Linked DNA regions of Homo sapiens: regions 1, 2, 3, 5 and 6 are each linked to region 4. Evidence: promoter capture Hi-C in human tissues and cell types (Jung and others, 2019). All regions are on one chromosome and are shown on one strand. Each heading gives the region's core, a stretch centred on a gene start or on the middle of the fragment in contact. The rest is flanking DNA. Distances are from core to core; before and after follow the strand shown. Region 1 overlaps PHIP (PHIP subunit of CUL4-Ring ligase complex). Region 2 has its middle 170 kb from the start of LINC02540. Region 3 has its middle 200 kb from the start of IMPG1. Region 4 holds the start of HTR1B (5-hydroxytryptamine receptor 1B). Region 5 has its middle 74 kb from the start of IMPG1. Region 6 has its middle 150 kb from the start of MIR10524.

Region 1 (2,756 bases), core at 173-2,672, 1.6 Mb after region 4:
ATTATATATTGATTCTACTAACTCGACCTAATAATATATACCTTAATATGGAACTTTCGTAAAAATAAAATTCCAATGAGCTAATTGGCCTACATAAGGTGCAATGTGCACAATCCCTCATTATACATGACTTTTTCACTATTAAAACTACTACTAAGAAAAAAAATCTATTTTTTTCTTTTTGAATGCAGATGTACATAATATGAAGTTCTCTAATACCACAGTAACTAAAAAACCTTTTCATTTTCAAAAGCTCTTTACCAAGAGGCTATTAACTACTAGTGAACTCAAACAACTCACCAATGCTGGGTGGGCTACCATAGTTAACTGGTGACTCAGGTGGTCTTCCACAGTGCAACGCAGCCAGAGCAGATCCTTTCCACACAACATGCTTGCAGCCTATTAAACACATGTATTTTTATGCATACAAAGAACACAAAAACAAAAGTGAGATAAATAATGTCTAAATCCTATGAGAAAATTTTCATACTTTTATTTGTGCGTAGTAAAGACTGTCTTCCAGCTCCTAATAAAGTTTGTACTCCAGGAACACTTTGAGGAATTTCTTGTTCAAGAAGAGGTCCTAGTCGATGACATATTTGCAGCAAGTGATCAGGTGCTAAGTGTCTGTAATACTTCACCTATTATGTAAAAGACAAATATAGTAGGTTTCAGTTTATCATTTTAATTTTCAAAATCTTTGAGCAACAATAAAAAAATTCATCCAAGTATAAAATATTTTGTTTTGCGTCTTTGATGTAAAGTAAATCTCCAGAATAATTAAGAATTAAGAACTGATAGTTTGTTATTAAAAAATTTAAGAACACTTAACATCTATGCTGAATTTCATAATTTACCAAAAACCTTACAGAGAGAAAGGCAAAATTCCAACTGCTGCTTTAAATATCTTTCAATCATAAAATAAAGCTACCCACTATAAAAAGTTTGAGCACTTTTGGAACAACTTCAAAATACTGCTTAATTTATACCGGCATTTGAAACCATGACATGAAATGCTAATATTTTTATTAGTCTTTCAGTAAATAAACAATATTCACTATCTAAATAAAATTATATTGGAAAAAAATACTATTGTATTACTTCATAATTAGCTATCAAGTTAGAAAAAAATTTCCACAGTAGTATCTAGTTCAGCTATTCTCAAAGTATGTTTTGGGAACCCCTGGAGGTCCCTCAGATAAAACTTATGAATAACACTATATTAGTTGTTTTTCACTTTTTCTCATGAATGCACGGTGGAGGTTTCCACAGGACACATAACATGTGATGTCTTAACAGACTGAATGCAGAAGCAGATAGGAAAATGTCTCCTCTATTAAGCCAGATATTAAAGATTCACAGAAATGTAAAACAATGCCACGCTTCTCACAAATTTGTTTTGTTTGGGAATAATTATTATAAAAATGTTACTTATATTAAAATAAGATTAGTTTATTAGTATTATTTAATAGGTCTCCAATATGTTAAATGCTAAGTTTCTAATATGGTAAATACCAATAGATTATAAGCTACACAAATAAAGGAACTTCAATACATTTTAGTAAGTGTAAAGGGGTCCTAAGACCAAGAAATTTGAAAATTGTTCCTCAAGTTTACCAAGTAATGGCAACTTTAACATGAATTCCTTTTGATAAGACTGATGTGGGGGGAGGTGAGGATTTAAATCATCTCATTCCATCTTGCAATATCTGCTATACTCTTAACTGCAGAAATCCATGAATGATATGTTTTTAAAGGTAGCTAATACCCATCTAAACTGAAGCCAATAGGAGAAACCTACCTTACTCTTTATCAAAATACACTCCTTCTTTCACAAAGATAACATGGAGCCATACTGCCACCAAATAATCTTTGGTAAGATTATTTAAAACAGCAGTTTGGCATACAGTAGGTGATAAGCCAGTAAAATGAGTATTTTTGGAAAAAGGAGTTCTAATACAGTTTGTATCATATGAATTATACATATTACCTCCTTGTTTTGCAGTCAAAAAGCACACTGACATTGAAGTCTCTGAAAAATCCTGAGATTATTTCCCAAACTCATTTAGCTACAGAATCCCTTTTTTCCCTAATAATATCTATCATATTCACTCAGAACATACTTTAGGAAACACTAGTATGATTAGCTAAATTAAAAAGCATTTAAAAGAAAACTTACCAAAATGAGTTTTTAAAATCGTATACTTTTCTTTAATCTTCCCCAAAATAATTTACTCAAAAATAAAATTTAGAAGTCTAGAATACTTGTAAGGTTGCTTCCAGTTCTAAGCTTGCAAATGATTATTTTAATGTGACTTAATTGATCAAAATTCCTTTTAAAAATTTTACTTTAAAGAAGATGGAAGTTCATTACTTATTAACTTCAGATGTGTGATGATCCTGTTTTAGTATCCTCTGGCAAAATATATTTTCAGGTAGTGAAACTGAAAATCCTTACTGTAATATTCTATCTTTCAATAAAATATTATGAATCCACTCTGACTCAAGCTTTCTTTGGTGATTTAGAATGTTTGAATTTTTCAAAATCAACTTTCATTTTAAAGTTAGAAGAGATACTTCCAGTTCTTAAATTCCTTGTGCTTTCTCTGGCTTTTGAGACTTTATACAAGCTGATGCCTCTGCTGGCAATCTTGTCTTACCTGCTCACCTCTACACCTCATTCTCCTTCATGTCTCAGTCTATGTCTCACTCACTGCCTTCCATGACCTATTTACACCACCTGTGCCCCTTTTTGG
Region 2 (3,034 bases), core at 182-2,681, 1.0 Mb before region 4:
AATATATCCATCATTATTGGAGATGCAAAATTTTCAGGTGTTTTTGTTTGTTGCTTGCTTCAAATGAAGCAATAGAAGAGATGAGCACAGTCCCTGGCATGTGGCAGGCACTTAAATAATTTTTGGATAAATAGGTGAGCAATGTAAGAGCCTTATTACCGTATTTTTGCAGTTTCTGATAGTTTTGGAGGAGGTATGATTATAAGTACAGAGGTTCTGTGTTTTTGAAAAAAATACAACAACCAAAAACTTGATGTTCTACAAAAATTTCCACTAGAACTAAGAGGATCTAATGGGGCAAAGAGTGAGGGTGAGGGGAGACCATTCCCACCAGTGCAACTTTGTGACCACAGCACTACACAGAAGAGTAACTGGTACTTTGGTAGAAAACACATCACTCAGGCAGGCAGTTCAGTATGGCTAGAGGATGGCACAGAGGATACTAAAAATGTACAAAAAAAAATACAATGAAAATGTTACAGGAAAGGGGTTTGGATCCAGACCCCAAGAGAGGGTTCTTGGATTTCGCACAAGAAAGAATTCAGGATGAGTTTGCAGTGCAAAGTGAAAGCAAGTTTATTAAGAAAGTAAAGGAATAAAGAATGGCTACTCCAAAAATCGTTGCCCATTTTTATGGTTATTTCTTGATGATACGCTAAACAATGGGTGGATTATTCATGCCTCCTCTTTTTAACCATATAGGGTAACTTTCTGAGATTGCCATGGCATTTGTAAACTGTCATGGTGCTGGTGGGAGTGTAGCTGTGAGGATGACCACACGTTACTCTCGTCCCATGTTAGTTTTGGTGGGTTTTGGCCGGCTCCTTTTCTGAAACGCGTTTTATTAGCAAGGTCTTTATAACCTGTATTTCATGCTGACCTCCTATCTCATCCTGTGACTTAGAATGCCTTAACCATCTGGGAATGCAGACTAGTAGGTTTCAGCCTCATTTTACCCAGCTCCTATTTAAGATGGAGTTGTTCTGTTTCACGTGCCTCTGACAGAAATACTAGTAGCTCTTAATTAGCATAGAGGCAGGTAGATAGATAGAAGTAGAACTCTAAACCAGAGGGGCTGCTTTGAAGGTGTTCTTTCTGGGGAGTGCAACCTCTCATCAGGCACAGCAATACAAAGCTTGAGTGTTCCTTTTGGAGGAGGGATGCCCTGGTGCAGGACTTATTTATAATTTTATTAAAATGGAACGGAAAGGGTTTCAGCTGCCTGAGCAGCATAGGCTGAAGTCTTTATTCTTCATTGCTGAATGTTCGGTTTCTACTCTTGATTTTCTACTTCCCCTTGCTTATAAAAAATCATGTATAAACCAGATTATGTCCATATTATTCTGACATAGTTTCTCTATTTTCCAATTGTTTATGAGCTGATTAGTGTTGTAGAAATACATTCTGCAGCAGAATAATCTGCTCAGTAATTTGGAATTTTGTGAAGAATGAATTGGACCCCAGACTGTTAGATCTTTGGAGATCTTAATAGCCACTTACCAGGTTCCATTTTATAAGTAAGGAAACAGAATTAGAGAAATACATGTTTTGTTCAAGGCGCTACAGCAGGGATGTCCAATCTTTTTGGCTTCCCTGGGCCACATTGGAAGAAGAAGGATGGTCTTGGGCCACTCATAAAATACACTAACAATTGCTGATGAGCTAGAAAATAAAAATAGCAAAAACAAAACAAAACAAAACAAAAACCAACTAATAATGTTTTAAGAAAGTTTACAAATTTGTGTTGGGCTCCATTTAAAAGCATCCTGGGCCATATGTGGCCCTCAGGCCGCAGGTTGGACAAGCTTGTTGTATATTAATTTAGTATTTTCTAAGTAAAAAACAGTTTAAAAGTCATAACCTTGAGAGTGCATTGTAAATTTATGACAGGTGATAGAAATAACAGAATTTTAAGATGTCTTTTAAGTAGTTTAACAGCATTTAATAATTACAATTATATCACACATAAACATTCTGCTATTTTGGGTGGGTTTATGGAGTGTCAAAGCTAAAATTGCACTGAACAATGTTAAACAGACAAGGAAGACTTCATTCCAGGCTATTGCAATAGGGAAGAGAGGCCAAAACTCAATCTCACCTCATCTCCATAGAAACAAAGCGCTAAAGAGTTTTTAAGGGCTGGAGTGAGGGAAATTATAGGCTGCCTCTGTTTGCTAACTGGTCTCACCCAAAGGAAAAGTAAGCTTTCTCATATCTTTATGACAAGAGGTAGCTTTACAACTCGGACCAAGGCTTCCATCCTTTCACAAGGATGGGCTCATAGTTTGGCTCCTGCCCTCCTACAGAGATACCTTCCCTGATGATTATATTTCACAGGGAAGGCTCCCACATCTTTGAGAAAGGACATCCTGGGCTGTAAAGCTAGCAAGAGGCTTTTTAGAAGATTTACATCTCAAAGAGGCAAAGAGAGAATTTACACTTAGAAGTTTTCTAAAGTAAATGCTGTAAAGAAAAGGAAGGTCAGGAGCCTAGCATCAGGAAGAAGCCTGTCTAAAGCTTAGTCAAGCTGAGGGAAATGTTAAAGCTGTCTGGGTTAGGCATTTTATCTACCACTCCTTTCAATGGCCCAACGTTAACTCACATTTTTGAGACTGTGATAAATTCTCATTGTTTTTATTCTATCTCCCTCTTCAATATCAGGTCTAATATGACATGTATTTATTTGTTACTTTAAAGAAATTTGATGCTCTTATGCTTTGCTGGCAGGAGGGCAAATTGATATAATCCTGTGTGAAAATAATTTATCAATAAGCATCAAAAGCTTGAAAAACCTTCATACTCCTAGACTTTTTAACTCCACTCTAAGAAATAGTTGTATAGAAATAATCGGAAGTGTCTTCAAATATGCACACAACTCTGATTGCAACATTTTCTATAATAGTGAAAACCTGGAAATAACCCATAGGTCCACAAGTAGGAGATAGCTAATAACAAAAACGAAAAAAAATTACATTTATATTATGGAATTCTTTTCAGCTATTAAATGTGGAAGTTAGAAGAGTGCTTAAAACAT
Region 3 (3,105 bases), core at 94-2,593, 1.2 Mb before region 4:
TTTTACCTTCCCAGAAATAGGCAGCTGAAGTGAAAGCACAATTAGTTTCAAAAGGAAATTATTAAATCCAGAATAGGTTATCATCTATCAACTAATACCTGTGTAAAGACTGCCAAAATATAACTATCTAAATTTTTTTTCTTCTCCTATACTTTGTCATGTTTTATTTCTACTCTTGAATTTGAGAGAATGTTTTACAAGTCTTACTCCTTTTGTAGTTTCACTTACTTTTTTGCCAAACTTGACAGTTATCTCTAGAGACCTCAACCACAGAATCCATGATAAAGACATGGCTGAATGGTTCCTCACTGACTTGCCTCATCCAATAAAATGTTTTGTTTCTGAGACAATTGGGTCAGTATGAAATACCTGGGAATACAATACGTCTATGAACGGCTCTTAAGTAGTTTATATAGTTACGCTATTTGCCAAACACAAAATATCCATTGTTAGACCTTAACTGCTGTGTTCTTTTTGTTAATTCAAAAGCAGATGTTTCTTCTTTTTTTAAACTCATCTATTTCTGCCCTTTCATTTCTAAGTTTATTCTTTCATCTGGCCACCATTGCCATTCTGATAGCTGTTTACACTGATAAGAGACCATCTGCTTGTCTTTCATGACTGAGGGAAAGAAGTAGGAAAACTACATTTCCATTCTTCAGAGAGTATTTTGTTTTGCTAATTACTTAAAAGCACTAAGGAAATGTATCCATTTGGCTTAATATTTTTGAGGACAAAAAATAAAGAGGTTAGAAAAATACAGTAGCATTTGTAACATCAAAATCTTTTAATTAAACATCTGTATTTATGAGAATAATGAAATGTTTTTTTTAGGATATCACCCCAAGTATCCTGGGACATGAGAGATTCATGGAAATGGTTCAAATAATTTCAATAATTCAGTGTTATTGAAATGTGAATTGATGTGCACATGTTTAGTCAATGTAATCAAATTTAAATAGAATAATGTACAAATGTGAAAAATCCCAGTTGTCTGCCTATCTGCTAAAAGTTGCCTTTTGTACTTTGAAGTGTGTGTGTGGGAGAGTGGTTGTACATGAGCAGCCCTCCTTCTTTGAGAACCTTCCCTCCCTGTTTCCTAGTTACATTTACATTACTTGACCCTGCATCCCTCCCTACCCTATTCCCTTGCATAGGGACATATGGTAAGGGTGGAGAGATACCTGATTTCATTCAGGTCAACCATTAGATTCTCCTATCAAAATTTCTACTCTAGAGATCAAGTCTGAAGCTGAGCACTGGGTTGTTACTAGCAGATTAAAAAAAAAGATGTTGGGGAAATATAATTAAAAATAAAATCTCCCATATCAGAAAACCTGTCCACTAAAGTACTATAGAAAAACAATTTTATTATTGAATAAGCTTTAAACCAGCATGTGATTCATATCACAGGCAATATGTTAAGAGATTACAAAGACAGAAAGAAATGTCACCCTTACATATAACCAAACTATAATCCATTCTATACATTCCATACATGTTCTCATGATAAACAGTAACTAGTCTCTAAGAGGACTTGATTGTACCATTTGTCACATAGAGTTCATTCTAAATTCACCTAGTAATTAGCGTGACCATCTGTGTTAGATAATTGGCTTTATCTAAAGGAAAAATAAGCTTCTCTTAATTTTATGCCAAGAGGTAGTTTTGCCACTTTGAGCAAGGTATCCACTGAAGTTAATTCCCACTCTTCCACAGAAACTGGGAAATAGGGGCCTATTCTTTTTGATGTTTACATTTCACAGAGATGGCTCCCAGTCCTTGAGAAATAACTTCATGGCTCATAAAACTGATTAAATGCCAATTTTAATCTTCAAAAGGATTTAAATACATTCCAGAGAGAAGAGAAAGTGCTAACAATTAATAGTTTTCTGAGGTAAATGCTCTAAGAAAAAGGAAGAGAGGGAAATCTCTTCACTTATTTTCAAGGGAGAATTAAGTCAGTCTCTCTTTTTAAAATATTTGATGGATTTTATTGTAAAAATGGAAGTTCTAGCCAGAGCATTTAGGCAAGAGAAAGAAAGAAAGGGCATTCAAATTGGAAAAAAAGTCAAATTATCTGTTTGCCAGTGATATGATCTTATATTTAGAAAACCATAAAGACTCCTCCAAAAGAGTCCTAGATTTGATAAATGAATTCAGTAAACTCTCAGATTATAAAATCAATGCATGCAAATCAGTAGCACTGCTAAAAACCAACAATGGCCAAGCTGAGAATCAAATCAAGAACTCAAACCTTTTACAATACCTACAAAAATGTAATACACTTAGGATTATCCTTAACCAAGAATGTGAAAGATCTCTATGAGGAGAACTATGAAACACTGATGAAAGAAATCAGAGATGCCCCAAACAAATGAAAAAATATTCCACATTCATGGGTTAAAAGAATCAAAATCATGAAAATTACCATCCTGCCCAAAGCAATCTATGGATTCTATATAATTCCAATCAAAATATTAATGTCATTGTTCACAGAGTTAGAAAAAACAATTATAAAATTCATATGGAACCAAAAAGGAGCCTGAATAACCATAGCAATTCTAATCAAAAAAAACAAATTTGGAGACATCACATTACTTCAAATTATACTACAAAGCTATAGTAAACAAAGTAGCATGGTACTGGTATAATAGTAGATACATACACCAATGGAACAGGATAGAGAACTCAGAAATAAAGCCAAAACTTACAGCCAACTGATCTTTGAAAAAACATACAAAAACATAAACTGGGGAAAGGATTGCCTATTCAGTAAGTGGTTCTGGGAAAATCGGATGGCCATATGTAGAAGAATGAAACAATCCATTTCTCTCTCCGTACACAAAAGCTAACTTAAGATGGATTAGAGGGTCAAATCTAAGACCCGAAACTGTAAAAATTCTGGAAGAAAACCCACAGAATATGGGTTTTTAAAGTGGATTATTAGACTTTTTTTTACAGAGTTTTTTGAGCTCCTTATATAATCTGGTTATTAATCCCTTGTCAGATGGATAGTTTGCAAATATTTTCTCCTATTCTGTGGGTTGTCTCTTCACTTTGTTGATGGCATCCTTTGCTGTGGACAAGAATTTTCATTTGATG
Region 4 (3,053 bases), core at 165-2,664:
GACTATTCTGGCTTCTCAGGATCCATTGCCCTTGCCCAGGAGAGAGAGCCTCGCTGGGACCCAGAAACCGCGAAAGAAGATTCGACCTACCTGTGGAACCAGACACAACTTGGTCCCCAAAGGTCGCTTAGGCGACCCCACTGCAAACGGCAAGTCAACTTGTGCACTTAAAACGTATCAGTTTATGGAATGCTTGTTTAAAGTCCTCATTGGACATGGTATAGATTATGGGGTTGATGAGGGAGTTGAGATAGCCCAGCCATGTGAAGAAGTCAAAGATGGCTAGGTGGAACCAGCAGGCATCTTTGCAGATAGGCATCACTAGGGAGATGATGAAGAAGGGTAGCCAACACACAATAAAGGCTCCCAAAATGATCCCTAGGGTCTTGGTGGCTTTGCGCTCCCTAGCGGCCATGAGTTTCTTCTTTTCCAGCAGGGCGTCGGAGACTCGCACTTTGACTTGGTTCACATACACAGGAGATCCGGATTCGCTGGGCACGTCGGGAACCCGCGAGTTAATAGAGGTGACCGAGGACGTGGACCCGGGGGAGTCGGTTATCAGCTGGGCTCGGGTCAAGCGCTTGCCGGTCCTGTTGGGCGTCTGTTTCAAAATCCGGGAGCGGGCTTCTACGTAGATGCGGCCATAGAGGGCGATGAGGAGCAGGGTGGGGAAGTAGAAAGCACCCACCGTGGAGTAGACCGTGTAGAGGATGTGGTCGGTGTTCACCACGCATTCCGACACCTCCTCTTCGGCCTTAGCCTGACGCCAGAAGAAGGGCGGCAGCGAGATAGAGATGGAGAAGACCCACACCAGCGCGATCATGACCGCCGCCCTCTTGGGAGTCCTTTTAGCTGAGTACTCCACGGCGTCCGTGATGGCCCAGTAGCGGTCCAGGGCGATGACACAGAGGTGCAGGATGGAGGCAGTGCAACAAGTGATGTCCGACGACAGCCAGAAGTCACAGACCACCTGGCCCAGTGTCCAGCGGCCGGTGACAGTGTACATGGTGCTGATGGGCATCACCAGGATGGACACAAGCAGGTCGGTGACCGCCAGAGAGGCGATCAGGTAGTTAGCCGGGGTGTGCAGTTTCCGGGTCCGGTACACTGTGGCAATCACAAAGGCATTGGAGAGCGTGGTGGCCAAGGTGATGAGCGCCAATAGCATAACCAGCAGTACTTTCCAGGGTAGGGAGATGGAGTCCTGGTAAATGTAGTCCTTGGCGCTGCAGTTTTGGGAGGGAGCAGAGGATAAGTTGGCTTGAGGAACCCAGGTCTCGGAGCCCGCGGGCGGCGGTGGAGCGCACTGAGCACCCGGTTCCTCCATGGCTCTCCTCGCCCCAGCTCCGGAGCGCAGCTCTTGGGCATGGAGCGGACGAAGGAGAGGGCGGAAGGACCGTGGCGATCGCAGGTTTGTCCCCAGTTGATAGTTCCGTGAGTTCCTCAATTATTCCTCCGCCCAGGTTCACAGCTGAAACTAGAGGTCATGGGTGCGGCAGCCAAGGCAGGCGGGCGCCTCCCCTGCACTTCCAGAGCGCCTAGCTAAGCCGCCGCGTCTGTGGTTGTTCCTCTCCACACCGGGTCTTAGACCTGGGTTGCTAAGAGCTGGCCCACCGAGCCCTGCTCCGCTCCAGCTCCCTGGAGGCGTCTAGTGCAGGAGGGTGAAGTACTGCTTGAGGAGAAGGCTTTGACCAAATGGGATCTCTTACCCCAGTTGCTTGAGGCTGAGCGTCTCCTAACCTGGACGCTTTTGGATCTGCAGACTTTGCCCACAGGAGTTTCCTAGGTGTAGAGACCAAAGCTTGCAGGCCAGCGAGAGGTCCCGAGATCTTGCATTCCCACCCCTCGCCCCAAGCTGGGGCACTTTTGGGGGGCTGCAGCGGCCGCCAGAGCTGGGTGGGGTGAAGTCTAGGAGCAGCGCTGCGCCGCGCCTCGCGCCGGAGCTCTGCCCTCCCTCTCTTTTCACTCTCTGGCCACTCGGACGAGCTGCCCCGCGGAGACGGAGCCATAAAAGGGGGGACACGGGGGCTGGAGTTGCGGCTGCTCGGGCCGCGCCGCCGCCACCGCCACCCTGGTCCCACGGGAGCCACTCGGAGCCATGCCACTGGGTGCGCGGGTCTGGAGGACCTGGCGCGGCACACTGGGAAGGGGCAGGTGTCTGGGGGAGCTGGAGGGACGCGGCGTGCACCAGCCCGGGAGAAGCGTGCGAGCTACGGAGCAGATGGGCTCTTTATATAGAGTCCAGGTCCGGTCCGCCAGAGCAGTGCAACTCGTGCGGCGCGGCGGGTGCGGACGCCCGCTCCCCATCACCTTCCCTTTTTCTCTCTCCCTCCCTCTTTTCCCCCCGCCCTGTTCCTTTCCTGGCCAAGGAAGCTCCCGCCGGGTCCTACCGCCCTATCTCCCCGCTTCCCACCCTGGGCCATCCTCCCAGCCCTGACAACCTGGAGCTGCATTTCTGGTCAGGGGAAGAAGGCGTCCTGTTCTCGCCTCTACGGACATCAGAGCTTGCTGCGCTGACCTCCAGTGAGACCCATGTCCTTAGCCATGGTCACAGGTTTAGTCCAGCAGTCTGGCCCTAGGCTCCTGCCTACCACTCCCACCCTAGGAGGCCAGTGTTAGGCGGGGAAGCCCTGGTCTCTGACCTCTCCGCTCTAAAATCATATCCAGCCCTGATGGCCACACCCAGGTTAGGAGGCACCAGTAATATCGCTGTAGAGGGCCCAATGTTTGCATTTTGTACTTTGCCGTCCTTAACTCTTGATACAATAAAAACTATTTTTTCATCTAGTTTTAGAAATTTGTGTTTTTCACTCAACTATGAGTCAACAGGGAAAAAGACAAGCTATCTGCGAAAATGTAAAAGTTATCACAAACAGAAGCCAACTGTATGTGAAATTAAACCTTCTGCTCCACCATCCTCTTCCAGCTGCTCAGTGCTTCAGTGCCTCTGGAAAACAGTTGCCAGTAAGCGTGTTCCTTCCAACAGCCTACCTAGAAAGGAGGTCATCAGAATTCAAGAAAAAAGGGGGATGGTGGGGCGGGGAGGACTGGAA
Region 5 (3,086 bases), core at 24-2,523, 1.3 Mb before region 4:
CCCCTTCTCACCTCATTCTGTCTAGATAAATCCCAAAATAGTGTCTTGCATGCCCAGTGTTGTATAGGGTTTCTAGAACACCACCACCTCTTTGGTTTGTATTTGCATCTCTGGAACTCTGACTTGAATCCTTGCTTCTGGCTATCCAAATCCCTCAGAGCTTCTAGTCCTTCCATCCTAGGTTTGTATTTTTTGTTGATATATTCACTATATACTATTAACTAAATGTATTGAATGAGGATAAGCTGCTGGGGGACTTCAGAAATTTCCCTCTGCTGTTGTCAAAAGTCTTTCTATTAGCCTCACCCTCATTGGTCAGCACTTCAAATAGTTTGGATGGTGACATTTTCTATTACAACTCTGAAACCATAGAGGAAAATTACACTTAATGGTTTAGTGACTCATGGAAAAGAATACCTGATTATCTTTCCAAAGCCCTTATTTATTTATTTATTTATTTTTTTTTGTTGATCAAGAAGACAACTACTGATTTTTATTGATGAGCTGGATTTTGCCAACTCTGTTCTGGTAATTATCATGACAGCACAAAAAAAGGTAGTTAATATTCTCTGTTTCTAATACATGGTCAATAAGACAATTAATTACCTGCAAGCAAGTTGAGAAGACTTGTCATGTTAGCGTTTTAGTACAGGGAATTAAGCATTATACCAGGAAAAGGAGAAAAATTCAACTAACATGAGCAGTGAAGAAAATAAACTTGTTTTGTAGAAAGAGAAACATTTCAAATCGTCTTATATTTTTTTGGTCATCCATTCATAGCTCCTTGGAGACCTGCTAGAGCATTTTGCTGAATTATTCATTAATTTACTGTCAGAGGTGCAACTAGGATTGCATTTTGTAGCCAGATCAGAGTACTATGCTAATGATTTGGATAGGAATATGCTGAGAGCTGAATATGTCTTAGACATGTGAGAAATCACCATGAAATGTGCCTAAGAAATGATTTAGTATAGCATGTAGCAGTTCTTTCTAGGATTCTATAAGTCTGCTTATTTTTGGAAACACCAAAGAGACTATGGTACCTTTATTAGTCAGGATAGTAGGGCCATTTTGAATTTTTGAGATGAGGGATTTTTAAGTAGGGACTAGACTGCAGGTAACTATTGGGGGGCTGGGAAGTGAAGTTTTGCAAGAGACAGTCAGAGGAGTCACTAACCAGTCTTCCTGGTGTACTAGCATGAGTGGACAAATTAGAATTTGCAGGGAAATCTGCAAAGCAAAGCATGTCTGGCTGCTGAAATGAGACTGTGAAGGAACAGCTCACAGAATGGTCCATAGGAAGCATCTGCCTCTGTATAATTACTTCCTCCATGCAGCCAAATGTTAGGTGGCCAGCAGAACCAATGACTGGGAAGACAAGCTGGTTGAGGGGAAAAGAGTTGAGATCTAGCAGACACTTCTGTGTATGCCCATAATAGTGTCTTACCACAAAGACTTCTGAAAGTAATAGCTCCATTTCATGTCTGCCTTCCAACCTTGTGCAAATTCCTCTTTGGCAAACTCTAACTCAGAAATATACAAAGAAGGGAAGACTGGGAAATGCAGTTCCCAGTTTAATCAAGTTGACACAGCAAGATCCAACAAACTCTTTCAGCCATAATGGTGCTCTCATCTTTGTCCAGAGGATGGAATATAATGGAAAGAGTTCCGTTATTCACTTCTACTACACTTGAAGCTCCAAAAGGAGATGTTCGGGTACACCTGTTTCATAATGGTAACCCCTAACAAACAGCTATTATAATGCCTGCCTCAGAGTAGTTGCATAAATACATATTGAATGAAAATAATTGACTCTAATTCAGAAGTCCTGAGTTCAGTTCTGTTTCTGCCATTGTGTCAGGTCTGTTGGCTGTCAGTTTGGTGCTTGACCTCTAAATCTCCTTTGTATTGCATATATGGAAGTTTGAAAGCCATATTTCCTGGAAACCTTTGACTCAGCCAGTGGGAGAGCTTGTATAAGATCATAAGGTGGGAGGAATAGATAAGCTGTTTCTGTTTTTGTTTATTCCTTCTTCTGGCTTCAACAGCTACAGGAGCAATAGCAAGTGACTGTGGGCTCTTGAAGAGAAATAAACTAGTCCAGAAGCTTTAGCAAAATGGCTGGCTCCAGGTTTCCTGTCAGGAGGCACTTGGCTCCCATATTTCTGCTTAGTGCTGCAGTGTTCATTGACTCTGGAAAGCACCACTTTTTCTTGTGTTCCTCAAACCCTAGGGATGGGAGTTGTTTCTGTCATTACTGATTACCTTCTTCTTTCTTCTCCATTAGCCCTTTCAACACTTTAGTAACCAATTCCTTGCATTAAATCACCTTAAATTGAAGTAATGAGTGTGGTTGCTGTTTCTCTGGCTGGATCCACATTGAAGCAACATTCTACTAGCTTTGGAATCTTCAGCATTTAACTCTCAGTTACCTGGAAAATGATGGTGATACTTTCCATGCCATTGCAAAAGTCCAAAGCAACATTATTGATAAAGGTGCCCTGAATACTATAAACTATTTTGCATGGATAAATTATTATCAGATAACACAATTTTTCGGGAGGGAGAGTAGTATAGTGTTTGAATGCATGGGCTCTGCCTAGGTTCATATTCACTTTAGCTACTGACCAACTGAGAGTTCGGGTAAATAGCATACTTCTTCAAGCCTGAGTTTTCTTATGTGTAAAAGGTAATAATAGCACTTATTTCATGAAATAGGGGGTACTAAATGAGATGTCACATGTAAAGTGATCAACTTAGTGTCTGACATATTGTAAATGCCTGTCATTATTATTATTGTTATTATTCTACGTAATTGGAGTGGGCAGTGACTAGTGTACCTGGGGGAGAGCTGTAAGATGGATCTAAGGGAGAACTAGCAGAGAATTTGAACAAACGATATAGAATAGGTTAACATAGAACCAATTTACTCTTGTAATCTAACAGACAAAACAAATGAATCAACTTGTATGGTTTCAAGAAAAAGAAGTGAAAGCCATCTCTTCAAATCGTAAAATGTCAAAACATTGATTTGTGTTAACCTTTAAGAACATTTGTAATTTATTCATCATTAAAAATGTAGTGTG
Region 6 (3,015 bases), core at 311-2,810, 1.2 Mb after region 4:
GGGGAATGAAGAGTGTTTTCTAGTAAAGTGTATAAAGGAGTTTTATAGGTACACATTTCTGTTCTTACATAAAAATATGCATGCATCCTGGTAGTAATTATCAAAGTACTTCTGACTTAATTATAATTAAAACATAAGAACTTCCCAACTTTGAATATAATAGACCCTGCGAGCCTGATTTTGCCCTGACTCTGTAGTTTCACACTTAAAGCCACCTACTTTCTCCAAGTCTGTTTATTCCATTAAGAAAATGGCTTTCTAAGATTAGAAAATCAACACAAGATTTTGGAAGACAGAGAAGGGAATCATGACTTGGGCTCTTCAATGCCAAAGTCTCCTGTCTCATCTCAACATACATCCATAGAATGAAATTAAAAGACTGGTTATTAAGTGCTTGTAATACAATCAATTCTGCTCTAAAGTTTCTGGTCCGAAGGAGAACACATGCAATACAATGTTTTTTTCTCTGTTAAGGAAAAGCTTCCCTTATTTATTAATATTTTATTAAAAAGCCCAAGACAGGATGTCTCATCCACAGGAAAGAGAAATTTAGACAGAACATTCAAGCTCAAAGACAGGTCTGCTAGTTATTTACCACACAAGCGTGAACAAAGAGAAATGCCAGCAAATAATAAGCAATACTAAAATTCAATTAGCCTTGGAGTCTGTTAAGTTCCTTTCTCAATTAAGCCCTCTACCTGTGCCTAGTATTCAAACATTTGTAAAGTGAATGAATGAATGAATGAATGAATGAATGTATAAGCAGTTCCTGTGTCTGCCAAAGGCAGTTCTGATCAGCCCCACAGCCCTAGGTATTAACAGCCTGTAGGAGAATTTATATTTATTAAGCTATTTAAACACACATTACTAGAAGTAATTTATTATTATCTTTACCTTTTAGGGGAGAAATCCAAGGTTAAGAAATATGTTCAGGATTATACGCTGCCTAATAAATTCAAAATTGGGATTAAACCCAGTTCTGACTGTTTTCAAAGGTCATGCTACTATAATTCTACCAAGATACTTCTATGATTTCCCAGTAGCTAAGCATGATTTGATGCTGTTCCTGGTGCATTATTTTCTCTAATGATTCAAGATTCCAAGCAGAACTTTGGGCATTTTATGTATGCTACAAGACGTAAAGCCTAAGTATCTGGGGAAGAGAATGTAGAGCTGCTATTAAAGAGGATTTCCAGGCAGATGAATTAAACCAGTTCTTTAAAATGGGTATAATTGATTTTGTGCTGCAATACAGTTGGACATGATTTACAAGTAGGTGACTTTAATGACCATAAATAATTAATACTTTCACGTACAGTCCCACAAAATATTTCAGTAGTTAGCTGTTGGGGGGAAAGTAGGAAATTCAATGGGCAGAAAGCTTTGAAGCTAATAGATTCAGTTGCCTAATCCCAACAGTTCTCTATTTAAGTGTCACCTCCTAGCCAGGTTACAGCTATGGAGATGCACAAACTATTAGGGCTTCTTTCCCCTGTCTGTCCCCAGAGCTCATACATGCAGAATGCTGAGTGGTCAGACCCAAATTGTTTGCCCCCTATTGGCTGAAATTGTAACATGTAGAAATTAATTTTGTTTAATAAGTATCCCTCATAAGGTAGGAGATATCACCTAGTTAAAACTTAGAAAAGATTCATTCAAGCAGCTCCATCTGAACACCTTGTTGGGATGCATACACTGTAAATGTGGTAGTTCTAATGGATGAAGAAGAATGTATGAAATTTAGGGAGAGAAGGGCAGAGCAAGAGGATGTGACACAAGGGTAGCTAGAGGGCAATGAGAAGTTGAGGGGCTCTAGGTTTCTTCTCCAACCCTGGCAATGACATCAGTCTTGCATATGCATTAATGCTAAAGTAGGAGAATTAATTCAGTATAAAAATAACTATAATGGCATTGTTTAGGTGAGAATATATGTATATTGGGTTTGAGCCAAGTAACTAGTATGCTGCCCAGATAATAGACCCTTCAGTCTCACTCTCAAGGGCAGCAGTTGGGGGAAGGAGTTGTTTCTAGGGCAGCTGGAGCGCTGATGTGATGGGCATTGGAATACACTGAGCTAGAGCATGGGCTTTGCAGTCAGGAAAATATGGCTCTGCTAGTTTAAATGCTATGTAATCTCAGTTAGGCAAGTTAGCATCTCTAAATATTTCAATTCCCTTCCTGTGGGAAAAAAAATGAATACTTTCATTGTGTCATACCCATTAAATAGTGTTAGATCTGTGAAAGGCTTAGCAGAGTTTCAGACTCATAGCAGGTGCCTAAGGAGAGAGAATTAGCTAATTAAAAGTATTATAAGCATATTACAATTATAATACACTAATGAAGTATAAAAGTAATCTAGTCGTTCATATATTCTTTGACTTTTTGCCACGTAAAACTATAAGACAGATCTGAGAATTGCCCTGAGAGATAACTCAGCATGCTGTGAAAATGAAACAAATTGGTATAGGTTGATAATCTCCCTGAAAAAAAGGATTCCCAAGCACCATAGGTGAGAAGGGCAGTGTAAATGTCAGTCATGCTTCTAGAGCAGTGGGTCCCAGAAGGATTAGGATGTTACTGTCTCTTCCCTCAATATTACTAAACAACATCCAAAACGTCTACCAAAGCAGGGAGTCTGTGAATGCTCCTACCAATGACCATGTTAAAAGTCTTGCCAGCAGCTCTCCTGAGGACCTAAGTTTCACCCAAGTCATTGGGAGTTAATTATATGGGTGTAAAAGGTTAAAGGCCATCTTAAAATTCTTGCTAGCAGCTCTCCTGGGGACCTAAGTTTCACCCAAGTCACTGGGAGTTAATTACATGGGTGTAAAAGGTGAAAAGTAGTTTATCTTTAAATTATATTTTGCTCAGTGCAACAATCTCATTAAAGGTTGAAAATGTGGTTGTCATCAAAATACAATGTATATGTGTCATAATCATTGTTTCTGTAACAGAAACTCAACTCTGCAAAGTGTCCTTTCCCTTGTTCTAATTTTAATATCAAAAAATATAATT

Evidence for each region. Contacts are between HindIII fragments. The study calls those that stand out against the background at their distance.
Region 1: a fragment that was not itself captured here is called in contact with the fragment with the promoter of HTR1B in region 4 in 1 of the 25 tissues and cell types used here (dorsolateral prefrontal cortex).
Region 2: a fragment that was not itself captured here is called in contact with the fragment with the promoter of HTR1B in region 4 in 1 of the 25 tissues and cell types used here (dorsolateral prefrontal cortex).
Region 3: a fragment that was not itself captured here is called in contact with the fragment with the promoter of HTR1B in region 4 in 1 of the 25 tissues and cell types used here (dorsolateral prefrontal cortex).
Region 5: a fragment that was not itself captured here is called in contact with the fragment with the promoter of HTR1B in region 4 in 1 of the 25 tissues and cell types used here (dorsolateral prefrontal cortex).
Region 6: a fragment that was not itself captured here is called in contact with the fragment with the promoter of HTR1B in region 4 in 1 of the 25 tissues and cell types used here (dorsolateral prefrontal cortex).

What each region holds. Positions count from the first base shown.
Region 1 is chr6:79,060,178-79,062,933 of GRCh38, forward strand. It overlaps PHIP (PHIP subunit of CUL4-Ring ligase complex), which reads right to left. Exons shown (of 40, transcript NM_017934.7): 5 at 491-641; 6 at 301-399. All of the region lies in intron 1 of LOC124901346 (a long non-coding RNA gene), which reads left to right. Among named protein-coding and RNA genes, the nearest start is that of PHIP, 17 kb to the right of the region's middle. The HindIII fragment of the contact is 3,531 bases long and covers 1-2,756 here.
Region 2 is chr6:76,420,627-76,423,660 of GRCh38, forward strand. No RefSeq gene overlaps it. Among named protein-coding and RNA genes, the nearest start is that of LINC02540, 170 kb to the right of the region's middle. RefSeq lists an enhancer at 2,065-2,648. The HindIII fragment of the contact is 3,289 bases long and covers 1-3,034 here.
Region 3 is chr6:76,268,256-76,271,360 of GRCh38, forward strand. No RefSeq gene overlaps it. Among named protein-coding and RNA genes, the nearest start is that of IMPG1, 200 kb to the left of the region's middle. The HindIII fragment of the contact is 4,199 bases long and covers 1-3,105 here.
Region 4 is chr6:77,462,077-77,465,129 of GRCh38, forward strand. HTR1B (5-hydroxytryptamine receptor 1B) reads right to left here and starts at 1,415. Exons shown (of 1, transcript NM_000863.3): 1 at 1-1,415. The coding sequence starts at 1,327. The coding sequence ends at 155. All of the region lies in intron 5 of LOC105377864, which reads left to right. RefSeq lists a silencer at 281-425. The HindIII fragment of the contact is 6,434 bases long and covers 1-3,053 here.
Region 5 is chr6:76,144,663-76,147,748 of GRCh38, forward strand. No RefSeq gene overlaps it. Among named protein-coding and RNA genes, the nearest start is that of IMPG1, 74 kb to the left of the region's middle. The HindIII fragment of the contact is 7,348 bases long and covers 1-3,086 here.
Region 6 is chr6:78,690,507-78,693,521 of GRCh38, forward strand. No RefSeq gene overlaps it. Among named protein-coding and RNA genes, the nearest start is that of MIR10524, 150 kb to the left of the region's middle. The HindIII fragment of the contact is 3,957 bases long and covers 1-3,015 here.